Regions from separate parts of the Homo sapiens genome. Here regions 1 and 3 are each linked to region 2. The links are contacts of gene promoters, found by promoter capture Hi-C in human tissues and cell types (Jung and others, 2019). All regions are on one chromosome and are shown on one strand. The core of a region is centred on a gene start or on the middle of the fragment in contact, and the rest is flanking DNA. Distances in the headings are between cores, read along the strand shown. Region 1 overlaps RPTOR (regulatory associated protein of MTOR complex 1). Region 2 holds the start of RNF213 (ring finger protein 213). Region 3 overlaps RPTOR (regulatory associated protein of MTOR complex 1).

What was found. The method cuts DNA at HindIII sites, captures the fragments that hold promoters and counts their contacts. A contact is called where the count stands out against the background at its distance.
Region 1: a fragment that was not itself captured here is called in contact with the fragment with the promoter of RNF213 in region 2 in 2 of the 25 tissues and cell types used here (H1 embryonic stem cells and dorsolateral prefrontal cortex).
Region 3: a fragment that was not itself captured here is called in contact with the fragment with the promoter of RNF213 in region 2 in 1 of the 25 tissues and cell types used here (dorsolateral prefrontal cortex).

The regions. Positions count from the first base shown.
Region 1 is chr17:80,852,940-80,857,615 of GRCh38, forward strand. It overlaps RPTOR (regulatory associated protein of MTOR complex 1), which reads left to right. Exons shown (of 34, transcript NM_020761.3): 12 at 2,525-2,608. Among named protein-coding and RNA genes, the nearest start is that of CHMP6, 140 kb to the right of the region's middle. RefSeq lists enhancers at 2,306-2,837, 2,838-3,368, 3,031-4,230, 3,550-3,844, 3,581-3,730 and 3 more. The HindIII fragment of the contact is 6,292 bases long and covers 1-4,676 here.
Region 2 is chr17:80,259,423-80,264,020 of GRCh38, forward strand. RNF213 (ring finger protein 213) reads left to right here and starts at 1,430. Exons shown (of 68, transcript NM_001256071.3): 1 at 1,430-1,480; 2 at 4,152-4,356. The coding sequence starts at 4,260. RefSeq lists silencers at 809-1,158, 1,438-1,787, 2,168-2,307, 3,882-4,099 and enhancers at 4,021-4,310, 4,049-4,598. The HindIII fragment of the contact is 8,363 bases long and covers 1-4,598 here.
Region 3 is chr17:80,909,699-80,914,084 of GRCh38, forward strand. The region is part of intron 21 of RPTOR (regulatory associated protein of MTOR complex 1); the gene reads left to right. Among named protein-coding and RNA genes, the nearest start is that of CHMP6, 80 kb to the right of the region's middle. RefSeq lists enhancers at 694-923, 1,044-1,233, 2,002-2,051. The HindIII fragment of the contact is 4,245 bases long and covers 280-4,386 here.

The sequences.
Region 1 (4,676 bases), core at 1,777-4,276, 600 kb after region 2:
CAAACTCATCCCAAACCTTCTTTTCTAGAGTTTGCTTTCCTTCACCCCTTCTTCTCTCAGCCTCTGGCCAGTGCTGCAGTCTCCTCCTCCCCATCTCCGTATTGGCACCCTGGTCAAACCCACCCCCTTCCACTCGCCTCCCCGACTTCCAGCCTCTTGCCAGGCCTGTCCCCAAAGCGAGCACACTGGACCAGTCACTGCTGCTTAACGTCGGCTGGTGGCTTCTGGATCTCAAAACAAACTGACCTCTCTGCATGCCGTCGGCGGGGCCTTTCCCTATCCGGCCCCTCCCCCATCACTGACCTCAGTCATACTGGTAGCCCGTGCATCCTCAGACACCCGGGCTTTTCCAGCCTCTCCACCTGCAACGCGGTAACCCCCTCATGTCACCTCCAGGACCCGCTGCCCAGCTGTGTCCTGTGCATCTTCTCCTGGGGGGAGGGAAAACCTCCGAGGCCTGCAGCGAGGCCAGGTCAGGGGCTCCCAGGGTCTGTGTGTTTAGGCATGGTGATGGGGCGGTCATTTGTTTAATGTCTGTCTCCCAGGCCACATGAAGGATGGGTGAGGTGGTCCCTACTGTCTGTGGTCACTCTCCTAGCACCCAGCGCAGCACCTGCCCCATAAACACCCCTTGGATGACTGGGGCATCGTGGATAGAAATGCTGTAGGTTGGAGGGAGTCGATGCACATGCCTTCCAGCATAGCCACCATTAAGGAAAAAATCAAAAGAAGTAATGCCATTAAAAGTGTAAAGCTTGGCCGGGCACGGTGGCTCACGCCTGTAATCCCAGCACTTTGGGAGGCCAAGGCGGGTGGATCACAAGGTCAGGAGATCAAGACCATCCTGCCTAATGCAGTGAAACCCCGTCTCTACTAAAAATACAAAAATAAATTAGCCGGTCATGGTGGCAGGCGCTTGTAGTCTTAACTACTCAGGAGGCTGAGGCAGGAGAATGGCATGAACCCGGGAGGTGGAGCTTGCAGTGAGCCGAGATTGCGCCACTGCACTCCAGCCTGGGCGACCGAGTGAGACTCTGTCTCAAAAAAAAAAAAAAGTGTAGAACTTTAATATAACAGAAAAAGTATGTGCAAAACCTCTGGCAGAGCCCACTCTAACTTATAAAGAACTCTGACATGTCAATAAGAAAAAGCCACATTTTGAAGTAGAAAACTAAACGCATGCAGGGCAAGTTTACTGGGGAAATGGCCCATCAACCTGCAAAATGTACTCCCCTTGAAATCCAAGAAATCCAGATGAAAAGGATGTATTTTCACCTGTCCTTTTGGCTAATAATAGTGTAATATGGGCTAGTATTGTCCCACAAGCTTTAAATTTATTATTTAATTTAATGAAACCCTTGTGGGCAGGTGTTGTGTTATATGTGTTTTATGAATTAATAAATCAAGGCTCAGCGACGTTAACTTGCCCAGAGTCACACCGCAGTGAGCGCTGCTGGGTGACCAGCTCAGGCAGCAGGAAGCTGGTGCCCACGTGCGTGCCGTCGAGAGTGTGAGTGGGTTCAGCCTCAGGGTCATTTGGTAACTTAAGTATATATGCTCCGACCTTACCTTTTTAATACTCACATTTATCTTAGTGGAAAAGAATCATGTACATGTGCCGATGTACCCATTAGGATATTGATCACAATCTTCTTTATCAGAGCAGCATTTTGGCCAGGCATGATGGCCCACGCCTGTAATCCCTACACTTCGGGAGGCTGAAGCGGGAGGGTTGCTTGAGCCAGAAGTTCAAGACCTGCATGGGCAATGTAGTGAGACCCCCATCTCTATAAAAAATACAAAAATTAACCAGGCATGGTGGTACATACCTGCGGTCCTAGCTACTCAGGGTTTGAGGTGGGAGGATCACTTGAGTCCAGGAGGTTGAGGCTGCAGTGAGCCATGATCTGGCATCTATACTCTAGCTTGGGCAACAGAGCAAGACCCTATCTCAAAAATAAATAAATAAAAATGGTAAAAGTAGGAACATTTTGATGATAATTTAAATATCTATCACTGGGGAAGTTGTTTAAAAGAATTGTGTACATTTGCATAACGGAAGTACTGTGCCGCCTTTGGGAATAATATGGTCAGTACATACCTACTGATATGAACAATGTTCACAGTGCATTGTTTAGTTTAAAAAGGAGCTGAGAAATAGAATCACATATTATCTAGTTCAAGATCAGTAAGAGAAGTGTGGACATAAAGAACAATGTCTGAGTTCATATACCTAAATGTCACCAGTGGGTTAGCTTTTTAAATGCAATTAAAGCATGTTTGTTCTAGTATTTTCTACATTGAGCATCTTTTATCTGTGTAATAAAGGCATAAAGCGTGTTTTCTTCACCTGTCTAAAAGCATGAACTTGTAAGGAAAGGAGCACCAGCTCTAGGTAACTGAAGCAGCAGACAGATCTGAACTGTGGTCAGACCGCTCCAAAGCTGGCAGCTCATGCAGCAGCGTTTCGGGGTTGCACACCAGTATGGTTTGCAGTGATACCATTTTCTTCTTGTTCTTCCAGGTGCTGTTAAGCCAAGTGCACCGGCTGAGAGCATTGGACTTGCTTGGAAGATTTTTGGACCTGGGTCCCTGGGCAGTGAGCCTGGTGCGTGCCTTCCGCATTAACCTGGGGGCTGAGGGAGGTGGGACAGAGATTAGGCTCCGTGTTTCAGTCTGTGCACGTATTTCATGATCCAGAGCCACCCCCAGCCGTGAGACCCAGGGCGAGTGTGTCCACCGTGTTGGTGTCCTGTCACTCCTGAGGCCCTCAAGGAGCCCACTCTGTACCCGTGCAGCCTGCAGTGCTGCCTGGCGTTTGGGGGTCTGGGGTTGTCGCCCCTCTTTATGTCTGATGTTAGACATAGGAGTGAGTGTGTTGTCGGCCGGTCACCTTTTCCTGAGCCGCCCCCAGCGCTGCGGAGGAGCAGGGCGCCCCTGAGCCTGACGCAGCACCCACCTCGTGGTGCTGCTTCCCCCAGGAGGAGTCTGGATCCTCAGCACTGTCTGCTCACCATCATGGCAGGCACAATTCGGAAACGCTCTTCTGGTTCCTCATTCTATAGCAGAGTAGTAATGGCCACTAAAAACACCCTGGCAGAGGCAGGATCAAGAAGCGACGTGCGTTTAACAAATAACTCACAGGGAAAGTAAAAGGAGGCTGAGAGGGAACCACAGAGTCAAGGAAACTCGAGAGACCTATGGCCAGCTGCCATGTACAGTAAACCTTACTTGGTTCTGTTGAAGTTCCAAAAATGAATACTCATAAAACAATTAGAAATTTTACAGGTGCTGGATTTATGTTATTCAAGAATCATTGTTCGTTTTTCTTGGGTGTGGTAACTGGATCATGTTTTTATAAAAGAGACCTAATTTTTTAGAGATAGACACTGAATATTCACCAATGAAATCACATGACATATGAGCCTTAATTTACTGTGCTTGGGAGCGGTGCGGTGGGGCGGTGGGTGCGGAACCGCTGTCACTAGCTGGGTGGTGAGTACCTGGGTTTGGTGTATTTAAGTATTTTCATCAGATAATGTTGACAAAGAGTGGTAATTGATAGTCCAGCACTGAAGGACGAGAGAAAACATCCAAAACTTGGAAGAATCATTCAGCACTCACCACTGGGCCATTTTCACTCCAGGTGCCTGAGGCCACAAATAGCTTGTAACAGAGTCAGGGCCTGAGTCATCGGAGGAAGGCTGGCGTGACTCGGTCACTTGGTGTGTGCGTGGTGGTGTCGCTTAGTCATCCTGGAAAGGCCTGCGTGGTATTGCGTGCACTCTAAGAAGACAGGAAGCATGTATTCATAACAGTTTAGAAAGAGTTTCATTTTTAAGGTTAATTTTTTAAAACCAGTTTCTTCCCTTTAAAGAATTAAGCTTCTGCTCATTGGAAATTTGCCTAATACATGAATCGAGGCTGGATAAACGAGGTATTTTTACAGGTACAGATTTTGCCTCTCAGGTGAGGGCCCAGCCACCCGAACCAGAGAAACTGCTCATACCTTGTTAAATGTGGCCTTTCACAGGGAAGGGACCCAGGCCTAGGTCCCACCACCACCTCCTGTCTTGGTTACAGGGGACCTCACTTATTGGAAGGTGATACCTTTAGGATATCTTTGAAATTCCAGCAGCTTTGAGATAAGGACACAGCAGAAACCCCTGGCTGTGGAGTGCAGCAGTACTTTGCCAGGCATCCTCCACACTGCAGTGCCCTCCACGCCCTCCCTCCCCTGCCTCTGAGGGCAGAGAGTCCCCTGAGAATGACATGGCCAGAACTGGGCGCCAGTGAGCCCCTGGGCAACCCCCGCTCCTCCCTGCCTTTCCCAGGGCAGGCATCTTTCTCCCAAGGTGTATCTGAAGTGCAAACATGAGTGTTGAGCAAGCTGGCCGTGCCGTCACGGAGAGGTGGCCGTGGTGTCACGGAGAGGTGGCCATGCCGTCACGGAGAGGTGGCCGTGCCGTCACAGGTGGCCGTGGCTCGTACGTGAGCAACACAGTGAAGGTGCCTGATGCTCTGCTGCCAAGAGCAGACGAGGCCACTGAGGGCAGGCAAGGGCCCCAGGCGCAAGCAGCCTGCGCCTCCACAAGGAAAAGCTGCCACCCGATTCATTCCAGTCTCTTGACACCAGTCAAGGCTGGCAGTATGTGGCAGCTTCTAGGAATAAATCA
Region 2 (4,598 bases), core at 180-2,679:
CGCCACTGCACTCCAGCCTGGGGTATAGAGTGAGACTGTCTCCAAAAAACAAACAAACAATAAATAAAGTGCCACCCTAAAATTAAAAATTTATCCTCAGGTTTTGTGTGTTTGTTAGTTTTTGAGGCAAGATCTCACTTTGTCATCCAGGCTGGAGTGCAGTGGTATGATCACGACTCACTGCAGCCTGGAGCTCCCTGGGCTCAAACGATCCTCTTGCCTCAGCCTCTTCAGGTGCACCACCACGCCCAGCTAATTTTTTTAAATGATTTTTTTTGTAGAGATGGGGTCTCTCTATGTTGCCCAGGCTGCCATCGAGTTCTTCTAGGGAAACTTGCCGTGGGCACCGTGGGGAGTGGGGTAAGGGCAGGGTCTGTGTCTTGTTCCCATGGCTGTCGTGGGCAGTTGTCGGTTAGGAGGGGTGGCTGTCGAGGATGTTGGACTAATTGTTGGCGACCCCCCGCCCCAAGCAGGAGCATTCAGCTGGGGTTCCGCGCCGGGAATTGTTTCAGGATGAGGGTCCCCTCTGGAATGCGCAGAGGGGCGCAGTGTCCAGAGAGGGACGGGATGAAGGGGTGAGAGGAGAAGGAAGAAAAAGAAAGTGGGTGATTTTAAAACGGAGGTCCCTGGTCACACCATGAGCCTCACAGATGGGAAAACTGAGGCACGGGGGATGGTGCGGACCGCCGTGGCCCCTCCATCATCAGTGACAGAGCGCTCCGCGCGGGGCCGCGGAGGTCCCTTAATCTGCAAAGGCCCCCACGCGGCGCGCTGACGACGTCCACTGCACCCGCCGGGCGCCCTCTGGGCCGCTCCCAGGCTGGCCGCCGGCTCTGCGCGGCCGCAGACACTGTCCGAGGTGCTGGGCGCCGGGGCGGGGGGCGCGCCTGTCCCGCCCCACTCGGCTGCTCGGGCCTGCCCGGGGTCTGGGCTTCCGGGAGACCCGCATGCGCCCCACGCCTGGCGGGAACCGAGGCCCCTCCCGCGTCTGTACCCGGCGCGCAGCGGCCCGAGGCGCCTCCCGGGGGCTGGGGGCCCGGAGTCACTGGGAGGCGCCACCGGCGGGGAATTCCGCACACGCCTGCGCGGGGCCGGCGGCGGCGGCGGGCAGGGCGGGGCCGGCGGCGGCGGCGGCGGGCAGGGCGGGGCCGGCGGCGGCGGCGGCGGGCAGGGCGGGGCCGGCGGCGGCGGCGGCGGGCAGGGCGGGGCCGGCGGCGGCGGCGGCGGGCAGGGCGGGGCCGGCGGCGGCGGCGGCGGGCAGGGCGGGGCCGGCGGCGGCGGCGGCGGGCAGGGCGGGGCCGGCGGCGGCGGCGGCGGGCAGGGCGGGGCCGGCGGCGGCGGCGGCGGGCAGGGCGGGGCCGGCGGCGGCGGCGGCGGGCAGGGCGGGGCCGGCGGCGGCGGCGGCGGGCAGGGCGGGGCCCAGGGCCCCGTGACCCGAGGGGCGACAGCGCGCGGCAGGCGGCGAGCTCGGGGGCCGCAGGTGCGAGCGGGCCTGGAGAGTCTCCCGGGGCGGGGAGCGGGCTAGGATACAGTGGGCCCCGCGGGCCGGCGGGCCGGGTCCCGGGGAGCGGCGCCTGCGTCCGGATGCCCCTCCCGGCCGCCTCTTCCTGCCGGCTCCAAGTTTCGGTTTCGCCGCCGGGGTGCCCGGTCCAGCCCCGCCCGCGGCGCCCACTGACCCTGTTCCCCGGCTGCGGGAGGGGTCGGGGTGGGGGCAGCGGGCACGCCTGGGACCCCGGCGACATCCCCGGAGCGCAGAGCGCGGAGGAGGCTTTGCGCCCCGGCAGTGCTGCCCCCGGGAAGTGGCCGGGGCACGGGGGGTGTAGTGGAAGGGGACAGCCGGACCCGGGCCTGCAGGTCCGCCCGGGAATCCTGCGCCTGTACGAATGGCAACAACGGAAAAGTGAAGTTGCAAAAACAGACTCCTAACTTTTACGAGGGAGGCATCGCCCCGTCTGAACCGCACCGCGCAGCGTCCTTCCGACTTGGCGAAGTCGCCCGAGCGCGGGGCTCAAGGCCAGGGTGGGCACCCCTCCCGGATGGCTGCCTGCAAGCCGGCGGGCCGGGCCCTGGGGGAGTCCAGGGCGGGAGGGGAAGGAGCTGTGCAAACATGGTGGTGGCCCTTCCCTGCCCCCACCTTGTTGACTTTGGTTGTGGTTGGGGGATGGGCTTTGATTTGGGTGGCAGTGTCTGTGCTTGGGAAAAAATGTCAGAGAAAAGACAGGAAGCGGATTGAATGCAACAGTGTTGGGTGCCTGGGGCTCTCTCTTGTGTCTTCCGGCCCCTAGAGCAGATGGAACAATAAGATGCTTTAGGGGGCCGGGCGCAGTGGCTAATGCCTGTAATCCCAAAACTTTGGGAGGCCAAGGCGGGTGGGTCACCTGAGGTCGGGAGTTCGAGACCAGCCTGGCCAACATGAAACCCCGTTTCTACTAAAAACACAAAAAATTAGCCGGGTGTGGTGGCGCATGCCTGTAACTCCACCTACTTGGGAGACTGAGGCGGGAGAATCGCTAGAGCCCGGGAGGCGGAGGTTGCAGTGAGCTGAGATTGCCCACTGTACTCCAGCCTGGGTGAAACTGTCAAACAAACAAAAAATGCTTTTTGGAGGATTTTTCGAGTTTTCTGGTCTGTGGTTCCCCAGTGTAGCATTGGAGAAGGAAACACTTCGGGTGGAAAGAAAGAGGCCTGGGCGGTGGGGAGTCATTGAAGGTGTTTGAGGGAGGGAGTGTCCACTGGTGGTTGTTTCAGGTAGAGTGTGGAGGGGAGGAGGTACGGTGGGAGCCAGGGCTTGGCTGTGGCAGGGGTAGGGGAGTTTTAAACTCTCCTTCTACTCTGAAGGAGAGATAATTTTAGTCTCTGGAATAAAAGGGCAGCAGACCTGGAGAAAAGGGATGCAAATTGTCCCATACACCTATTGGGAACCTCATCAAAGAGAAGACTGCAGAAGACAGATGATTGATGTTTTTATGGCATTGGGACAGGGGCTTGGGGCTGGAGAGGGGAGGTGTGCAGGGTTGTCTTGTTGTGCAGATAATCACTCAGGTGATCTCAGAGCTGCTCTCAGAGGAACTGGCGAGGCCGCAGGCACTCCTCTTGTGTGTCCCTGGGACCGTTCCTAGATCCCTCTAGGCAGATAATGGGGCCTCAGAGAGAGCTTCTGCTCCATTCTGCTGTTTCATGGTGTGGATTTCCTTTATAGCCTTTTACAAAAGGATAGCTTCCCAGAACTCCTGAGTATGTGGTTGCTCTGAATAGCCATCTCAAAATTGACCACAGAATCTGTTTTGGGGTGGCATAGATTAGTCTCCCACACAGGTCAAGCCAGGGAACCCCACCCAGTGCCTCCGTCCCTCGTTCAGGCCCAGCCTGAGTGAGCCCACCCCAGTGGGAGGAGAGGGCAGGGCCAGGGCAGGGAGGGGGCCTGAGTGTCCTCCTGGCTGCTGAAGGCACCAGTCAGCTGCCGCTCCAGCCACTGCCCCAGTGGAGTTCTTTGGTTCCAAGCCAGCAGAAGAAGGTGGTGGGTGGGCCAGTGTGCCCTGAGGCTTCTTACTGGGGAGGGAGAGAGTCAGGTCCTCCACTGTTAGGTGGCCAAGCGCCCAAACGCCATCTCCACTCTCACCCTGGATGCAAGAAGTGACCCCGGAGGCCTGAGTCCTGGCCTTGGTCTGGTTTGATGCCATCCACCGCAGAGGCTGTTCTGAGGGCAGGTGGTCAGTGCAGAGTGGCGCGCTTTGTGGATGGCAGCCTCCCCCCATTACTAGGAATCTGACTGCCAGCCCAGTAGCCCTGGGCTGCCTGCTCAGGCCCCATCACCTGTGGGGCAGGTGCTTTAGTCCCCTTAAGAGGATGAGGAGGGTGAGGCATCAGCAGGCTGAGCGCCTTGCTCAGGGCAGGCCGTGGGACCCTGCCGAACAGCACGTGGCTGCCCCACGCCTGCCTGGAGCATCCCCTATCCCCACCCAGCCCAACCCATGTTCTCAGCAGCAGGGATGGTTCTAGGCTGGCTGAATGAGGGACCAGGGCAGAGACTGCAAAAGCTTGAGAGCCAAGGGGGCAGCACAGAGCGGGGAGGGGCTGGGCTTGGGCTGTGCTCCTGTTGGGTTTCCATTAACCAGGGGACCAGCTGGGCTGCTGTGATTTCACTTTCGCAGAAAATGAAACTGAAGCCGTGGTCACGTGACAGGACATGTAGTATATAGCAGGCTGCCAGCGACTCCTGCTCTTGCTTCTGGATCTGCAGGGCAGTCCCAGCAGGACCCATGGAGTGTCCTTCGTGCCAGCATGTCTCCAAGGAGGAAACCCCCAAGTTCTGCAGCCAGTGCGGAGAGAGGCTGCCTCCTGCAGCCCCCATAGCAGGTGAGGCCCAGGGGTGCTGGTGGAGGCTGGGGCAGTGGGGACCCCTGGAGATGTCTCACCTCCCTTCCAGGAAATGGAAACCCTGGGCAGCAGGCAGCTCAGGTGGGGCCGAGGTCCTCTGTGGCTACTGAGGCTCTGTGGCTCTGAATAGCCATCTCAAAAGTGACCACAGAGTCTGTTTTGGGGTGGCATAGATTAGTCTCCCACACAGGTCAAGCCAGGGGACCACCACCCAGTGCTTC
Region 3 (4,386 bases), core at 1,152-3,651, 650 kb after region 2:
TGACTCATTCAAAACCCTTCTAGTTAATGGTTTCTTATTCATGGCCATTCTAGCTCAAGGGAACTTTTCAAAGAATCAGTTTTTGGTTTCATTGGTTTTTCTCTGTTGTTTGTCCATTTTCCATTTGATTGATTGAGCTTTCATCAATAAAGCTTGCTTTCTTCTGCTTACTTTGAGTTTAATTTGCTCTTCTCATCCTAGTTTCTTAAGGTAGAAGCAGAGGTCATTGATTTTAGTCCTTTCTCTTTGGGGACTGTAAACTCTTCTCAGTCCCTTTTGTGAGCTCTGGGCATTTGGCCTACCGCCTTCCCGCTGTTTTTTCTCTGCCTCATGGGTTGTCACTCTACCCTTGAGCAGATGAATACTTAGTCAAAGACCCCAGGGGCCTCTCCTGCAGACCTTGGAAGCTTTCCCCTCTCCAGTGCTCTGTCCTGCAAATTGTCACCACCTCAGCCTCCCTGGAGCCCCAGTCTCTGTCTCCTGTTCCCTGAAAGTGCTGGGCTCCCCGTCTCTGCACTGTGGCCTGGGACTGCCTGAAACTACCTGCAAGCCGGACACAGGGCAGCTGTTTATTTCCGTTCTCTCAGGGATCACAAGCCCGTGACACCCAGCACCCAGTGTCCAAAAACAATTGTTTACGGTATTTGTCCTGGTTTTCTAGTTGCTTATGGAAGTTGGATGATTTATGTGGAATTAGAAGTCACTCATTATAGCACTTAAAAATTTTTTGGTAACTTTTTGATAAAACTTCAAAAGCTTACAGAAATGTTGCAGGAAGAATGCAGGGAAAGGCCACACTCTTGCAGCCTCTGTGGTGTTCTACGTCTTCATCTGACCTCGTCACGGCTATGGCGTTGCCTCGGGTATCACTCAGTGCCAGGGTCTGCAGGGTCGAGGAGCCACGGCTTCCCATCCTAGTCCATCGCTTTTTCCAAATGAGCTATCGAGTCTCCCCCTCTCATTTGCTGTGGCCTTCTGGGTCCTGGCCGGCCATCGAGCCAGGGTTCCTGCAGCTCCTCAGCTCCTTTTGCTGATATTATACTTCTGTGGCTTTCGGTTCCTTCAACTAAGTTATTTTCTGTTGGTCTAGTTATATCTTAGATGGAAATCACCTTACCGTCTGCAGTTGGTTCTTCTTCAGTTCTTTTTTTTTTTTTTTCTCTTGCTCTGTTGCCAGGCTGGAGTGCAGTGGCACAATCTCAGCTCACTGCAGCCTCCGCCTCCCAGGTTCAAGCAGTTCTGCTGCCTCAGCCTCCCAAGTAGCTGGGACTACAGGCGTGAGCCACCACACCCGGCTAATTTTTGTATTTTTAGGAGAGACGAGGGGTTTCACCGTGTTGGCCAGGATGGTCTCGGTCTCTTGACCTCGTGATCCGCCTGCCTCGGCCTCCCAAAGTGCTGGGATTACAGGCGTGAGCCACTGCGCCTGGCCTGTTCTTTATGGTATCACCGGTATAGTCACAAGTAGCCTATTGGCCAACTTGGAAAGGTCCAGATTGTTTAATTCTGCACCGGCCTCCCCTCCTGCAGCGGACTCTGCCACTTCCTTCGTCACCGCATCCCTGCAGCGGATTCTGCCACCTCCTTCGTCACCGTGTGGTGTGGCCAGCTGCACGGGCACCTGGAGACGTTCATCCCCAGGCAGCAGGCCATCTCCTCAGGTTTCTTTTATGTGCTACTGGCCTGTTGAAAATAGCCAGTCAATTAAGTTAATGTTTTCATTATGCGGTAAGAAAACTAAGAAATAATATAATTATTTGCTTTTAAACTAGGAATAAGATAAATACAAAAATAAACCTCAGGCTGGGTGTGGTGGCTCACACCTGTAATCCCAGCACTTTGGGAGGCCAAGGCGAGAGACGATCACTTGAGCCCAGGTGTTTTGAGACCAGCCTGGGAAACATAGTGAAACCCCGTCTCTACAAAATAGTAGCAAGTTAGCCGGGCACGGTGGCAAGCACTTGTGGTCGCAGCTACCCAGGAGGATGAGGCTGGAAGATCCCTTGAGCCCAGGAGCTCAAGGCTGCAGTGAGCTATGATTGTGCCACTGCACTTCATCCTGGGCGGCAGAGTGAGACCGTGTCTTTTAAAATAATGTTTAAAAATATATGTTTGTTACACATTATGGTCTGAGACCAAGAAGGGGAGGCAGTAAAGCAGACAGGAAGGAAATAAGGAAGAAAAGAAAGTCATAAGACTGCACAAACACCCCTGAGGAAACCACCCACGGAGGCCCCAGACCAGAGCAACCGGTCCCGAGGCCTCTCAGATGAGCTGACGCTCTGGAGGATTGGGACTGAAACCGTCACATCTGCCTGCTACGGATTAGGGAAAATCAGTTCTTACCACTTACCACTGCCCTTTTAGACTCTAAATAGCCTCTACCACTTTTAGTTTAAGATTTCAAGGTTGGGTTTTAAATAGCCGTTTTCACTAAAATAGTTGTAAAAGCTTTTTACGAACATTAATAAATGGTTTAAGTTTTTAGAATTGATGGCCAGTTCGCGTCTCTGCTGGCAGTTCTCTGACACACAGGAGTGTCTGGTGGCCTCTTCTTTTCTCTTGGAGGCACAGGATGGCTGTGGCCATGGACCACCCTTGCTCTGTCCTGACTGCACAGTTGGAGGCCAGCGCTATTTAGGAGGTTTGATCGTTTTCCCCCAATTAATTTAGCTTCTTGGGTATTTTGATCATGATGAAATCAGTATTCAGCCTATTTAAGTTTATTTTTCAGTGGCTTTTGTGTATTTAACCTTACTGAAAAATTAGCCTGAATTATTTTAAACTGTAATCCGAGTGCCTAATCTTGAAATATAAGGACTATTAAGTGCGTTCCTGTGGACCTGGCCTCCAGTTGTTAAATAGCTCCTCTTGGGAAGCTCTCGAGCCTGTGTAGCACAGAAGCCACTGCTCTCTGCTCTTCAGCAAACGTCCCAGCACAGCCTCCACAGCCCAGCGCCCTTTTGGATTGTGTGTGACATGTAGTGTAGCTGGACGGCCCGCCCCCCTCTCCCACCACGGTAAGGCAGTTAAGCACCTGCGTCTGCCTTTCATGTTAGCAGGTTATAGCAACTCGAACACACGGCTTTGTCGTGCTATCCGATTGAGACCCAGAAACCGCCATAAAAGTGGCATTTGCCTTCTGTGCCTGCTTTGCCGTTCTAGAATGACACAGAGACCTTAAGGCACATGGCCATCACTCCAGCAGACATGCCACAGCCAGAGGGGTGGAGAAGGTCAAGAGAAGGCCTCTGCTAGAGACCTTGCTATGCATAGCACAATGCAGCATGAGCTTGTGTGTGTGTGTCTGTGTGCGTGTGTGTGCACGCGTGTGTGTGTGTCTGAGTGTATATGTGTGTGGGTTTAAGAGTAAACATTGCTACTAAAGCATTTGGAAGCATAAATCTTTCTTGTCTTCATTTTAATTTCAAGAAATGCCTTATTTTCCTGCTCTAGGAACTGAAGGGATTACATTTCATTTTACAGAGAAACGAGCCTATTTTAGATATTTAACTCTGAAGCCAAATTTTTGTTCATCAGAGTCTAAAACAGCCTTATTACTATGGAATGCCCTGTAGAATTCTATATTCAAATACAGAAATTGCCACCAGCTCTGTATGAGAGAACCCACACAGCTCCAGAGCTGTGGTCTGATTTCATGTATTTATAATATATTTCGATTCCCATTCCATGGGCTTGGGGTTTTCATTTTGCTTTTAGCTCCCTTTTCTCTTGGTTTAGTTTTGGGGGTGTTGTTTGTTTGTTTTGTTTTGAGACAGGGTCTCACTCTATCACCCAGGCTGGAGTTCAGTGATCCAGTCACGGCTCACTGCAGCCTCGACCTCCTGGGCTCAAGCGATCCTCCCACCTCAGCCTCCCAAGTAGCTGGGACTACAGGGGCGCACCACCATGCCTAGCTAATTTTCGTATTTTTTGTAGAGATGGGGTTTCACCATGTTGCCCAGGCTGGTCTCAAACTCCTAGGCTCAAGTGATTCACCCACATTTCCCTCCCAAAATGCCAGGATTACAGGCATGAGCCACTGCACCTGGCCTGCTTTTAGGTTTTTTTAAGGAAAATTTCAGACTATGTAGAAGTAGAAAGAAGAGACTGATGCCCCTCAGGAGCCTGCCTGTGGCCCCAGCAGTTCTCACCTCAGTGGTTTTAGGACAATGCCAAGAAAGAACCTTCAAGCCACAGGTGGTCACCTGTCAGGGCACATGTTCTCATGATCACTGCTTATATTATAATTTATGAGAAAACGTGTGAGCATAAATGCACAAACTCACCTAGAAGCACCGCTGCAGCCTCTTGATACTGTGAAGAGTGTGTGTGCATGTGCGCTGGCCGCTGCCTCTGTTGCAGGACTCATGCATGCAGACGGAG